Linked DNA regions of Homo sapiens: all the other regions are linked to region 1. Evidence: promoter capture Hi-C in 16 types of primary human blood cells and fetal thymus (Javierre and others, 2016). All regions are on one chromosome and are shown on one strand. The core of a region is centred on a gene start or on the middle of the fragment in contact, and the rest is flanking DNA. Distances in the headings are between cores, read along the strand shown.

Evidence for each region. The method cuts DNA at HindIII sites, captures the fragments that hold promoters and counts their contacts. A CHiCAGO score of 5 or more calls a contact.
Region 2: the fragment with the promoter of TXLNA here is called in contact with the fragment with the promoter of PUM1 in region 1 in 1 of 17 cell types (total B cells); the score reaches 5.8 in total B cells.
Region 3: a contact is called between a fragment that was not itself captured here and the fragment with the promoter of PUM1 in region 1, in 2 of 17 cell types (total B cells and total CD4 T cells). The highest score is 6.5, in total B cells.
Region 4: a contact is called between a fragment that was not itself captured here and the fragment with the promoter of PUM1 in region 1, in 1 of 17 cell types (fetal thymus). The highest score is 6.0, in fetal thymus.

Annotation. Positions count from the first base shown.
Region 1 is chr1:31,063,645-31,067,172 of GRCh38, forward strand. It overlaps PUM1 (pumilio RNA binding family member 1), which reads right to left and starts at 2,073. Exons shown (of 22, transcript NM_001020658.2): 1 at 1,972-2,073. RefSeq lists enhancers at 1,730-2,049, 1,917-2,831 and a silencer at 2,160-2,379. The HindIII fragment of the contact is 1,467 bases long and covers 940-2,406 here.
Region 2 is chr1:32,178,412-32,181,782 of GRCh38, forward strand. TXLNA (taxilin alpha) reads left to right here and starts at 1,264. Exons shown (of 11, transcript NM_175852.4): 1 at 1,264-1,365; 2 at 1,903-2,103; 3 at 2,831-3,166. The coding sequence starts at 1,935. RefSeq lists enhancers at 442-1,201, 1,202-1,960, 1,848-1,927, 2,048-2,207, 2,218-2,267 and silencers at 1,138-1,327, 1,468-1,647. The HindIII fragment of the contact is 3,390 bases long and covers 1-1,814 here.
Region 3 is chr1:29,229,976-29,233,465 of GRCh38, forward strand. MECR (mitochondrial trans-2-enoyl-CoA reductase) reads right to left here and starts at 959. Exons shown (of 10, transcript NM_016011.5): 1 at 756-959. The coding sequence starts at 931. RefSeq lists enhancers at 335-835, 836-1,336, 861-970. The HindIII fragment of the contact is 752 bases long and covers 1,349-2,100 here.
Region 4 is chr1:32,392,438-32,395,716 of GRCh38, forward strand. BSDC1 (BSD domain containing 1) reads right to left here and starts at 2,004. Exons shown (of 11, transcript NM_018045.8): 1 at 1,967-2,004; 2 at 1,643-1,703. The coding sequence starts at 1,977. RefSeq lists enhancers at 1,045-1,742, 1,730-2,019, 1,743-2,438, 2,310-2,389, 3,137-3,279. The HindIII fragment of the contact is 1,550 bases long and covers 680-2,229 here.

The DNA.
Region 1 (3,528 bases), core at 823-3,322:
AACAAAGAATATCCACATAAAAGAGGAGTTTATCACTGACGCACACTAAACACACCTTCATTCTAAAAGGAATGGGGGAAAGAAAAGACTCCTATAAAAATGTTCAAACGAAACAATTGGCTTTTGTAAAGCTATCTGTATGCCCTAAGACTTCCTGCTTTACCTAAAGAGGCAAGGCAGTTTCTCAAACCAGAGAAAACCTGGCAGAACAGTTTCAAAGTGAGCAAATACCTAAGCAATTAACATGTTATCTTGGGTAGTTTTGTGGTATTTTGGCAAATACGGCACAAAAATTAAAAACTCAGTATCCTAAATATCAGAAAAGCTCACTAATACGTGTAGCATTTAAAATGTGATTTTTTTACAAATGACACCTTATAAGTACTTTAAGCAACTAGAAGTGCTCAGTCCAGCTACTCTTTCACAGCTTTCAAATGTTTACAAAGTTTTTTAAAATATCACTAATTGAGTTGAATTCAAAGGAACACGGTTTACTTTATTTCCATGGCTCACCTTTTACTAAAATGCTTAGTGGTTTAAAAGGTGTTTATTTTTACCACACTTAACAAACATTCTGTGGTCATAAATTTATCTTAAAACAGTTCATTTTAAACCTAAACTAAACAAATTCCAACTTCAAAAAGCTGTGGCCTTGAACAAAATGAATTCAATTGTCGCTAAAGCAAAACACTAACTCAAAGTTCAGAATCCGGAGAGCGTTTCCCAAGAGCCCAGATAAAGAATCAACAGCCCCCCAGTGTTTTATAAAGTTAAAATTAGCAAAGGGTCAAAATGTTTATTTTGCTTACGAAAACTGCATCGGAAGCCACATTTCTTGGGGTTGGGCCTGTCTTAGTAAGTTTTTAGGTGCTTTCAAGAAACAAAATGCTAAGCCTATTGTTTCAGAAGTTAACTGACTTTAAAACAGAACCCAGGAAAAGCTTCATAAAATCTTATTCTTAATTAATCCCAGTAATAACAGGAATTGAGCAAAATGGTATCGAGGGCTGAGAACAGTGTTTTCTTAATTGAACAATAAAAGGTAACAATCTAAGTTACGGGAGAATAAAGCCTTCTCTGGTAATGCTGTGTGTGGGTTTCTGGCTTTGTTTTTTCAGCGGGGGGGGGGGGGGGGGCTATAGGAGGGAAAAGTTACAGGAGTGTATTCCTCACTTGACGTGGGAATGGTACTGACAAGTAAAACAAATGATCTATGTTTACCAAGCATGTTTGTGAGGACTAAAACTAGTATTGTGTATCTAGATTTTCCTACTAGCAAGGGGTGAACCCCTCTTTGAGTGAAGAGAGACACCAACACCGGGAGGCTCAAAAAGGAAGAACCCACCAAAAACACAAGCTCACACGGAAACAAAAGGCCACAGCAACCCAGGAGCCTAAAAAGCATTCTGAAACTTCCTGATCGCCACTTCTCCACATTTAAGGCTCGCAAAGTTCCCCCACGGTGAATCTCGCCTGTGGACAAGGGCCACGGCTGCTTCTAAAGCGATTTATTGTTCCTCCTCCTCCGGCGCTGCCACGGAAGCTCAAGAAGTCGAAGAAATCGGGGTGGCACAGAATTACACTTCATGGCCACACAGAAGACTCGGGGCTTCGCAAACCCATCAAAAAAAGCAACCCGAATGGCAACATCAATCTTCGGTGGTTCCCAACAGGGCCAGGCAAAAATGTAGAGGCACGTCTACGCCCTGGGCTCGGGCCTAAACCCCCAGCATTTTCCTAGCTTCGACCCCGCTCCCCACCCCCTCCCTCCTTTGATAACAATAGGGGCCTTGCTGCTGACTCCAAAACATGTACGAGGAACAGCGAGTGAGAAGCCTCAGCCAGGGCCCCGGCGGCTTTTCCAAAGCCCTTCTCACCCCCACAACCACTCTCAAACACCAATATGAAGGGACAATCTGCTCGTTAGGGGTCCGGAGCAGCGTTTGGGGCCGGTGGGGTGCGGATACTCACGGGCGGAGCGGTAGGATGAAGATGGATTTCAGCCCCCCGATCTTCTCTCTCTGGCGCTCTCGCTCCCCCTTACCTTTCACTCCGACAACATGGCGGCCCACTGGGGACTGGGTTGGCGCGGTGCATCCTGGGATAGGCTCCGGCCCCGGCCCCGGCGGTGGCAGCGGCATGTGCGGAGAAGGCTGGCGGCTCTGGAACAGGTTGCCTGGTTGCCATGCCAACCCAGGGCCTGTGTGAACTCGGGAAACTCGCAGGCAACACAAACGCTGCGCGCGAGTGCCCGCCCGCTAGGCGAGCGCGCGCCGCCAGGGCCGAAGGCGGGGTCCCGCCGGCCCGCACCTGGGAGAACACGGCCTGGAGCTGGGCACGCGGGGTTGCGCCGGTGACGCTCCACCGAGTCTCGGACGCGCTCCTCGCGCCCGCCGCGCCCTCGGAAGCTTGCCCCCGAGCACCACAGCTAGCAGGGTTCGCGGACGGCCACCCGCACTGCCCTGGCCCCAGAGGTGCAGGGTTCAAACCCCTTCTCTGCAGCTTTCTAGCTCTGCGGCCTTATTTAAATCGACCTGCCTCCATTTCCACATTTGTACAATGAAGAAGAAAATAACCCCCACTTAACAGAATGGCCTGGAGGATTAAGTGGAATAATGTATGTTAAGTGCTTTTAGTCTTACTGTCTCAAACTAAACTCAAAATAGATTGAAGGCCGGGCGCGGTGGCTCACGCCTGTAATCCCTGGACTTTGGGAGGCTGAGGCGGGCGGATCATGAGGTCAGGAGATCGAGACCATCCTGGCTAACATGGTGAAACCCTGTCTCTACTAAAAATACAAAAAAATTAGCCGGGCGTGGTGGCGGGCACCTGTAGTCCCAGCTACTCGGGAGGCTGAGGCAGGAGAATGGCCTGAACCTGGGAGGCGGAGCTTGCAGTGAGCAGAGATCGCGCCACTGCACTTGAGCCTGGGCGACACGGAGAGGCTCCGTCTCAAAAAAAAAAAAAAAATAGATTGAAAACAGACAAATCGCAATACTGTAAAAGACCAGAAGAAGATATGGGGAGAAGCTCTATAATTGGAGGAGGGAAAATGTTTATACTCATGAATCAAAGTCAAAAGATCATAAAAGAAAATATTGAAAGAAATATAAACATCTGTACGAGAAGAGATGCCATCAACAAAGTAGAACAAATGGATAAAAAATATTTGCAGTACACGGCCAGGCGCGATGGCTCATGCCTGTAATCCCAGCACTTTGGGAGGCCGAGGCGGGTGGATCATGAGGTCAAGAGATCAAGACCATCCTGGCCAACATGGTGAAACCCCGTCTCTACTAAAAATACAAAAAAATTAGCCGGGAGTGGTGGCGGGCGCCTGTGGTCCCAGCTACTGGGGAGGCTGAGGCAGGAGAATCACTTGAACCCAGGAGGCAGAGGTTGCAGTGAGCCAATATTGTGCCACTGCACTCCAGCCTGATGACAGAGCAAGACTCCGTCTCAAGAAAAAAAATATATATATATACACATATATGTATATATACATATATACATATATATACACATATA
Region 2 (3,371 bases), core at 14-2,513, 1.1 Mb after region 1:
CAATTAGCACAACAGTTTACAATCTTCTCTACCCACAGCCTGATGCGAGGCTCTGGGACTAGACTATTTAGCCAACAGTTCTTGCAAAATTAACTGACTTATAAGTAAATAGTAATTTCAACACCTCACTGCTAATGCTGTAACAACTCTGCAGACCTAGGGAGCAAGTACGGTTTGCAGAGCACTGGGAAGGCTCTGAAGTGACCTTTGAACTGGGCCTCAAAAAATTTTGGGTTTGGCAAAAGTCAAATCTCTTAGGCTTCAAATTCCAGGCACAAGGATTGTTGGGTTTGATTTCATTATCCAGAAGCAATGGGGATACAGAATTGTGATCTCATGTGTAGGGAACTGTGGGGGTTTTTTCTACTTTAACCCCAGTGAGACTTTGTAGAGTGTGGGGTAGAGAAAAGGCTCATGAATATGCCTGAAGCCTAACTCAGCACCTTTCTGAGGAACTGACTGCCAAAATGGTAATGGAGAGGGGAAAATATGACCTACTTTCACAAGTTACCTTGACTGCCTCAGGGAAACCTGCTGTGGTAGTGTTTCTTCTGGGTGAAAGACCAGGTAATTACCTGGGTGCTGGTCTCAGACTTACCAGTTTTGAATCCCTGTTTTAACCACTCACTATCGATATGACCTTGGATAAGTTACCTAACCTTTCTCTTACTGTCCTTTTCCGTAAAATGGGGATAACAGATAGTAGTTATTTCTATGAGTGGTTATGAGAACCAAGCTATTAGATAGCGGGAAAGCACACAGTAAGCGTTCAAGGAACTGCTATTGTTATTAAAAGCCTCCTTTGGAAGAAGGACATTGAGGCCCAGAGAGAGAACAGAACGTCCAGCCACACAGCAAATCCGTGATGAAGTTGGGACTGGAGTATGGGTCTCCTGAGTCTCAGCCCAGGACTCTATCCCTCTTCCCGAGTCCTCGGAGTTCCCGGATGGAGTCACATTTGTTCACGGCCAGGGAGGAAGGTTTGATGGAGGCCTGCAGGAAACAACAGCCAGGCGCAAGGCTTTGGGAGTTGAAGCATAGCTTCTGCGAGATAGAAACAAGGTTGACATGGGCACTCGTGCAGAATGACGGGCTCCTTTTGGACTCCCAGGACTACAGTCCCTTATGCACCTTGGGATCTGCGGCTAGCCCCTGCGTAAAGAGGGACGCGTAGTCTTTTCCCTGCCCCGCCCTGCCGGGGCGCCCGCCTCCGAGGCCGCCCTCGCTTCGTCCTTCCCAGCAAGCTCCGCGCCGGCGCCGGCTATTGATTGGCTGAGGCGGGAGCAGGCGGCTGGCCGGCAGCAGTTACTCGGGGTTTCCGGTGCGAGGCCAGAGGTGGGGAAGCCATCGGACGTCGGCGGTGAGGTACGTGCAGCGGCGGCCGGTGGGCGAGACTATTTGAGAGTGTGCGGGCCGGGATGTTCTCGGCCTGTGGGGAAATCACGCCAACTCCCCGCGTGGGCCGGGGGCTGTCTGGGGATATGCGCATGCGCGGGCGTGCCTCGCGGCTTGAGGGCGCGCGGGGCGTGGGTGGCTGCGCGCGCGGGGGGCGCACGTGGGGCCTGAGGGGCGGGGGCGGTGCCGGGAGTCCCGCCACGTCAGTCTCCGGCCCTGAGCCAATCCCGCGCCCGGCCTGCCGCGAGGGGGCCGGTTGTGCCGGGAAGTGGCTCCAGGGAGAAGAGGCCTCTTCCCTCACCCGCTGTGGGAGCTGCGCCCCGAAAGCCTGCCCCGGCACGTCGGGCTCTCCTGACCCGCCAAGACCAGAGAGCCGTTGGCGCCCTCCGCCCGGGCCTGCCGGTCCGTTTATTTTAAGAAGCTTTGTGCGCCTGCTGTGGGGATTTCTGATCCAGGCTGCGAAGAATTTCGAAGTCTGGAAAATAGCAACTGTGTTTGTTTCTAAAGGATCTTCTCCTGACCCAGCATCGCTCATCACAATGAAGAACCAAGACAAAAAGAACGGGGCTGCCAAACAATCCAATCCAAAAAGCAGCCCAGGACAACCGGAAGCAGGACCCGAGGGAGCCCAGGAGCGGCCCAGCCAGGCGGCTCCTGCAGTAGAAGCAGAAGGTCCCGGCAGCAGCCAGGCTCCTCGGAAGCCGGAGGGTGTGTGCCAGCTCTGCGTTGCCAGCGGGCAGGGGGAGGAGCTGTGGGGTCGGCCTCGCTTCTGGACTTACAGGCCGAGGCCAGGTTGTCCGGGAGGAGGAGATGTAGAATGAGAGGACAGTGCTGGGGGCCGCGGTCCCCCCTGCGCTCTGGCGAGTTGGCGGAGCTGCCCCCTCTAAGCACAGGAACAGAGTTCTGGAGAGAAGCTCCGACGGGATTAAGTCAGGTGGCAGCCAAACGAGGCACCCAGTCAGGAAATCCAGGTCCCGTTAGAAACACCTCAGCCACCAGCAGCTAACTGCCCTTCCTGTTTGAGGCATTTCTAGAATGATCTGAATGGCAAGAAATGGTTTTGTGGGGGGGAAGGAGATGGACTAGAAGTTGCTCCGTGCCATCCCTGTGTGCTGATGCTTTACATACTTTTATGATCTAACAAATATGTTCGGGTGGTAGTGAGAAATAGTTGTGTCATTTTACAAGTAAACAGACTTAAAGAAGTTAGGCAACGATTACTATAATTTCTTGATTTAAAAGATGTTTCGAATCTAAATTCTGACAGGAACTAGATTTGCTGAATGATACTCCATTCTTGCTTCTCAGTTTCCATAAAAAAAAAAGTTAGGCAACATTTAACTCAAACTGATGAGTTTGGCTGGGCCTGAAAAATCCCAACCAGTGGTATAATCGTCTTCTTTCTCACTCTACCCCTCATCCTCTCCTGCTGTAGGGGCTCAAGCCAGAACGGCTCAGTCTGGGGCCCTTCGTGATGTCTCTGAGGAGCTGAGCCGCCAACTGGAAGACATACTGAGCACATACTGTGTGGACAATAACCAGGGGGGCCCCGGCGAGGATGGGGCACAGGGTGAGCCGGCTGAACCCGAAGATGCAGAGAAGTCCCGGACCTATGTGGCAAGGAATGGGGAGCCTGAACCAACTCCAGTAGTCAATGGAGAGAAGGAACCCTCCAAGGGGGATCCAAACACAGAAGAGATCCGGCAGAGTGACGAGGTCGGAGACCGAGACCATCGAAGGCCACAGGAGAAGAAAAAAGCCAAGGGTTTGGGTGAGCAGAGGGCGGCTCTTTGTGAAGCTGGTGAGGAGAGGGAGTTTGGACTTGACGTTCTCTGGGCCAGTCTGTTCTGCCAGGATTCAAAGGAAAACGGTACTTCTCAGAGCAGCAAGTCACTCTAGTCTAATCAAAGCCAGGGATGTGGGGGCCACGGCATAGAGAGATGCAGGAGTTACCAGCACAAAGCCTTCTGGGTTTT
Region 3 (3,490 bases), core at 475-2,974, 1.8 Mb before region 1:
ATGACTTCTCTAAGACCAAACAGCTACTAAGACGTTGAGCCTGTATTTGACCAAATATAGATACTTGGGTCTGTATGGCACCAAAGCAGCTCTTTTTAACCAAGCCAAGATGCATATACGGTGCAGTGGAGAGAAACATGAGTTTGGAATCAGAAGCCATGGATTCCAGTCTCCTGTTCCAATCACTTATTAGCGGTATCACTCTGGGCAAGTCCCTTGCCCTCTGGAAACAATGATCTATGACCTACTCTTTACTGACACATGAAGATCCAAATGGATGTAAAAGTATTCTGAAAACTTCTTCCAAATAATAATAATAATAGTAAGAACTCACGCAGGTCAGTCAGACATAGGTTGGAATTCTGACCCTGTCACTTACTGGCTGTGTGACCTTGGACGAGTGATTTTACCTCTTCTGCCTCAGTTTTCATCTGCAAAATGGGGATAAATCAATAACTACCCCAAAACATTGTTGTGACAATTAAATGAGAGCATCCATTTAAACAAGGGATTGCCTGACACAATATTCGATCAATAAACATCAGCCATTAATACCCTGATAATTGCCTCTCGGGTCTTCAGCTACCTTCAAGTACGGTCTTTCTGACCTACCAAAAACGCCCTGGGCTTCGGCTTCGGTTTGCTATTCTCTGCCCCCTTCCTCGGACCCTGTCCCTCTCTTCCCAGTCCGCAGCTCGTGTTAAAGCCTTCCAGAAACCCCAGTCCCCTTCCCCGGCTTCGGCGCCGTCTCTTACTCGACGACCTTGGCTGGATCCCCGTGGTGCCCATAGACAAGCGCCCGGACCCGGGCAGGCTCGGCGGATGCGGAGTAGGAGGAGGCGGCAGGTCCGTGACAGCCAGAAGCTGGGAGCAGCCCCCGCCACTGCCGGGCGGGGGTTCGCACCCGCCACAGGGTACTGCAGACCCACATGCTCGCTCCAACCAACACAGAGCCTGACGCCCCGGCTACGTCATCTTCCAGCGACCGCGCGCCTGCGCCCCGCCCCTGCCCCGCCGGGTGACCACTCCCCCTTGGTCCCTTTGAAGGGCGTTTCCTTCCTTCGCTGCCCAAGTGGTGGCGCCTGGCTAGACTGCGTGTGGGCCCCGGAGGGATCCGGGGGTGCGGAGCTTGCGAGGCCGCCAAAGCTGTTGTCTCAACAAGGAGAGTCTGGGGCTAGTCCAAAGTCGTGTCTACAGCCTGCAGTTTGGTGTTTGATTTGGAGGAAATATTTACTCTCCCTGGCCTCAGTTTACCCTTCACATAATATATTGAGTGCTCACCGAGCCAGGCTCTTTAAGGTATTATCTCATTTAATCACCACTACCATGTAACGGCATAGGGAGGCAAAGCTTACTTCCCTACACTGAGGAGAGTACACGAAAGCTGCTGTGGAGGCAGGAGTATGGGGCTTGGAGTTAGAAAACTTAGGTTCAAATCCTAGCCCTGCCACTTCCTAGCTTGGCCACCTTGGGCAGGTGAAACTCTGAATTTTTCTCATCGGTACAATGGGGATAATATGCCTCCTTCCGGATTGTTGTGAGGATTGGATGAAATAATAGAGGAATGCTATTGTGGGTGGGAGAACGCATTGTAAAAAACTCTGTTCAGATGTAAGACAGGAATCACAAGGAGAAGGGTCCTCTCTCAAAATGCTCACAGTGTAGAAAGGGATTAAGTGGAACACTGGAAATGCCTGTAAAAAGGTGTAGCCCTATGAAGGATCTAGTCTGATTTTTGGTGTAGGGAAGACATGAACATTACTAAAACCCCAGATCGAGCTGTGGCTCGTGCCAGAGTGCAATGCTGTAGTCTGAAGAGAAGTGCTCTGGGATGGGGTGGGATGGGGTGGGGGCTCTTGGAGGAGGTGCTGTTAGAGCCAGCCCTGTGATTCAAAATCTTCTGTGTGCATAAAAATAATCCGAGGTCCCATCTTAGACCTACTGAATTAGAATCTTGCGGATGGGGGTTCCAGGAATCTACATCCTTACAAGCTCCCAAGAATATTCTGATGCAGGTGTCCCAGGAAACAGGTTTTAAGATACTGAGCCAGGGCTTTGAAGGATAAGGAAGAGTTCCTTTCCTGGATTTTATTGACTTGAAGCTTGCCATCTCCAAGCCTTTCCTCTGAGGAAGAGAGCACAGCAAAGTACTGTGAGCTAGATTTGGACAAACCTGGCTTTATGTCCTAGCTCTGCCATTTTCCAGCCATTTGATTTCGGACAAGTCACCAGGCCTCTCTGTGTCTTCACTTTCTTACTCTTAAAATGGAAGGAATACTAGTTATCTGTTTCAAGATTGTTGTGAGGGTCAAGTGAGATATTATCCACTTGAAGCATTTAGTACAATGCTTGGCACATGGAAGCATTTGATAAATATTATCGGGGGTTATTGTGATTAAATGAGAAATATCACACATAAAACCCTCAGACTAGGGTCTGGCTTATAGTATGTGCTCACTAAATGTCTGTACTTGTTTTTATTATTAGAGAAAGTTGGTGTCCCATGGTGGGGGAAAGGCTTGGCCCCACATTTATGTGCCAGCACACACACGATGACCAGTCCTGCTTACCCTTTTCCCCAGTGACACATAGGCTTACTTGAACTGGGAAGTACAACGTAACCTTCTGTTGTAAGACTCCCTAGGTGACATTGAGATGTCGACATTCTCTTCTTCACCAAATTGGCTCCTCTGAATTTCTGGGGAGCCCAGTCAGGAAGCCTGAAGAATCATCCAGCAAGTCCTCCTCCTTGGGGCTGGACTTTAGCCTCCTGTGCATCCCAATAGCCCTCACTTTTAGTCTAGGCCATCTGGGTTCTTGCAGGGGCATAGTTTGAGAACTACTGACTGAGGGGTTCAAGTCCAATTTCCTGGACTTGCATTCAAGATTCTTTGCACTCTGACTCCCACACTGCATTTCCAGCTTCATCTTCTCCTGTTGGACCGTGCATAGCCTGTGATCCAGCTGCATCTGATACCCGTCTTCCCCAGTGTGTCTTGTGCCTTTATTCAGGCCACTCCTTCTGCCTGAAATGCTGTTCCCTGCCTCGGAAACTCCAGGTTCAGATGTCATTTCTTTGATGTTTCAAAACTCCCTAGGTCATCTGCTGCTGCCTTTGTGTTTTCCCTGGAGCTGTGTTATGGCCTTTAGTACATCGTCTCTTATTTATTCCCCTCCAGGCAAGACTGGAGCCATGTTTGGTTTATCTCCATAACACCAGCACCCGATATGAGCCTGGCACAGGGTAGGTGTCATAAATATTCCATGAGTTGCAGGTAATTGAATTTCCTCATGGCCTAGAACGGTCTGTGGTGCCATCTCCTTTTCCCTAGATTTGGGCTGGTCACTCCAGGCCAGGAATTTCCTTCTTCCTTCTTCTCTCAAGGATTATAGAAGTCTGTGGTCTTTTTTTTTTTTTTTTTTTTTTTTTGAGACAGAGTTTTGCTCGTTGCCCAGGCTGGAGTGCAATGGCGCGATCTTGGCTCACTGC
Region 4 (3,279 bases), core at 205-2,704, 1.3 Mb after region 1:
CCACCTCCACCCCCACCCCAGCTTTTAACTGGGAATTCCAAGAATGAAGACGGAAGGTTGGCCAACTATCTATTTTTCATAAGTTATGATAAGACCAACCTTGAGACAAACACAGGAGGCCCTCATGCAACATCTGCTGAATGAATGTCAGACTTTCCTGCCAGGAAATTACCCAACAGGAAATATGCTACTATCGGGTCTCTTCTATCAAATGTTAGGGTGCAAGCCTCTCAGTCCTCATCAACAACATAAACAGCTCAGGGCATTCTCAGATTTGCTGGGCTATTGCTGAGAGGCTGTCCAGGAGTACCCAGGATAAGGGAGGAATAAAAACGCTCCCAGATGTCTGGGTGTGGTGGCTCACGCCTATAATCCCAGCACTTTGGGAAGCTGAGGCAGGTGGCTCACCTGAGGTGAGGAGTTCGAGACCAGTCTGGCCAACATGGTGAAACCCTGTCTCTACTAAAAATACAAAAATTAGCCAGGAGTAGTGGCACATGCCTGTAATCCCAGCTACTCGGGAGGCTGAGGCACAAGAATCACTTCAATCTGGGAGGCAGAGGTTGCAGCGAGCTGAGACCGCACCTGTGCACTCCAGCCTAGGTGACAGAGTGAGACTCTGTCTCAAAACAAAACAAAAATACTCCCAGAGTAGAGGACTTATTTAGGTGAGGTCAGAAGCTTCCTGGAGTTGGCCCTGAAGCAGGACTCATCCCAATTGCTTGAGGTAAATAGTAATCAACTTTTCCCACAATTCAGTTGGGCTGATTTTGACAAATAAGCATGAAATGAAACAGGAATACACATTGGCAAATTACCCACTGGCACAGCCAAATATCACTCATCCCACAGAGATTGTTCAGCAAGAAGGCCTTCCACTCTCTGGTGATTAATCTCTCTCTCTCTACTGCCCGTTGCATAGCCCCTACTTAGAACTCATCAGGCACCAGTGTGTATGGCTCATGCTCATCTCTGGCTTGGGTTCTTGCTTTTCATCCTGTCTAGGCAGGGTTGCCCTTGATGAGGTTCCTTCTCCACAGGGGCCTTCCCTGGTGAGTTACTGACTAACCAGAACAGACAAGGTGCCCCTGTACTTTCCTTTCACAGAACTTACCACAACGGTAACTAAACAACTATTTGTTTGGCTACTCGGTTAATGGCTGTCTCTCCACTAGACTGTGAGCTTTGTAAGGCCCAGGATTACATCTGTTTGGCTGAAGTCTGTATCCTCAAGACCTATCAGAGTGCTGGTTGTCGCATATACTCTAATATTTGAATGACTATACGAGTAAGTTTTTTTACTGCTAGAATCTTTTCCTTCAAGACCTGTATCAAATGCTCTCTCTTTCACGAAGAAACTGAATTTCCTGAGCTGGAATAAATTGCTCCTTCCTATGGATTCCTACAAAACGTTCGTTAACTCCAGCCTTTAAAACCATCTTTATTTCACTGTGGCTAGTATCACACTGGTTTGCGTCGAGGTCTGTCTTCCCGTGGACCGGTAGAGGCTAAAAGAAAGGCCCAGGTCAGCCTCATCCTTGAGACTTAGCGCCCGCAAAAGTTGGGCGGGGCTGGTTGGACCAGGTTGCATTGAGGCGGCGCAGGGCCCTGCTGAGGGAAGAAGGGCACGGGCCCGGCTTACCTTCTCTTTGACTGCTTGGTAGCTCTGCTGCAGCCAGCTCCGCCACCATCCCACGTCCTCCCTGTGGAAGACAGACACATCTGGCAGCACCGCGGTGCGATTCCTGCCCGCCCAAGGATCCGGTTTGTTCCCCGCTCAGATGTACCCTGCGGGCCGAGGCTTCGCAGACCGCTTGCCCACCCCCTCACAATGCGACTCCACTCTGCCCTTTCAGATCAGTCCACGCCCCCGCTGATCTCACGTTCCCCACCGGGACTCTCGCCCAGCACCCCAACCCTGGGAGAATTCAGGCCCCAACGCCTAGGAGCAAAACGACAAGCTCACCCTTCCGCCATCTTGCCTGCATGACATCACCACTATTTACTGACCTTTGACTTCCGACACGGCACCGCCCCCTCAAGGACCGCCCCCGAGGCGCTCGGCCCAATCCTCGCGCCGGCACCGCCCTCAGCCCAATCCCCTCCCTGCGCCATCATTAGGTCCCGCCTCCCTGAACTCTATCCAGTCTCTGTCCCGAGTTCGCCCTCAAACTCCGCCCCTGAACTCTCAGTTCAATCGTCATTCAGTCCTGTCCTCAGGCTCCACCAAGCTTGACTCTTTGTCACTGTCCGCAAACGTCGGGTACGGTGGCCTCTATGGACGATGATCAGCCGACAAGCTGGACTGCGGAGAGCTGGGAGCAGAGGGGAGGAGGAGAGATAGCTCGAACGTCAGGATCCCAGAGCGCAGGGTTAGGACCGCCCCCCTTTGTGAAACCAGCTGCGTAGAGGCTGCTTTGTGTCTCTTTGGGCTAATTCAATAAGCCCATATTGCGGGGCTGTGGCCCAGAGTTTGGAGGAATGTGAATAATTCAGAGGCGACTTAGATGCAGCCTTTGGAGGGCTTACGGGTTAATGGGAGACACACACATTCAGTAATCTCAACTTTCGGTGGCCCAGCTCAGAACAACGCCAGGTGGAGGTGGTCTGGAGAAATCCGGAGACCGCCTGGATTGAGTTCTACTGCGATTGGAAGGGAGATTCCACAGCCCACATACTTTGGACTTTAATTAAGGTCAGCCCCTCCACGTGTGCGGTAGATCCCATCGCCTCTTGTTTGCTTAAGGACATAGATCTAGTAATCCCCCCTTCATCTCTTTTCCCTCTGATGACTGCATTTATCCTTGTCATCATCCGTACTGCTGTTTCTCCCATCTCAAAGGCAAACAAAAACCAGCCCTCTCTATATCCCTCACCGTTTCCCTACTCCCCTTTACAGCAAAAGCGTTGCCTACTCACAGTCTGCAACTCCCCTCTCCTCCCATTCTCTCTTGAACTCACTGCAGTTAGGTTTTTGCCTCTCAGACAATCCTTTGAAATAACTTTCTTTTATTTATTTAATTTTATTTAATTTTATTTATTTTATATTTATTTGTAGCTCTGCTGCAGCCAGCTCCGCCACCATCCCACGTCCTCCCTGTGGAAGACGGACACATCTATTTTATTTATTTATTTATTTTTGGTCCTCCCTGTGGAAGACGGAAACATCTATTTTATTTATTTATTTATTTTGAGTCAGAGTCTTGCTCTGTTGCCCGGGCTGGAGTGTAGTGGTGCAATCTCAGCTCGCTGCAACCTCTGCCTCCCGGGTTCAAGCGA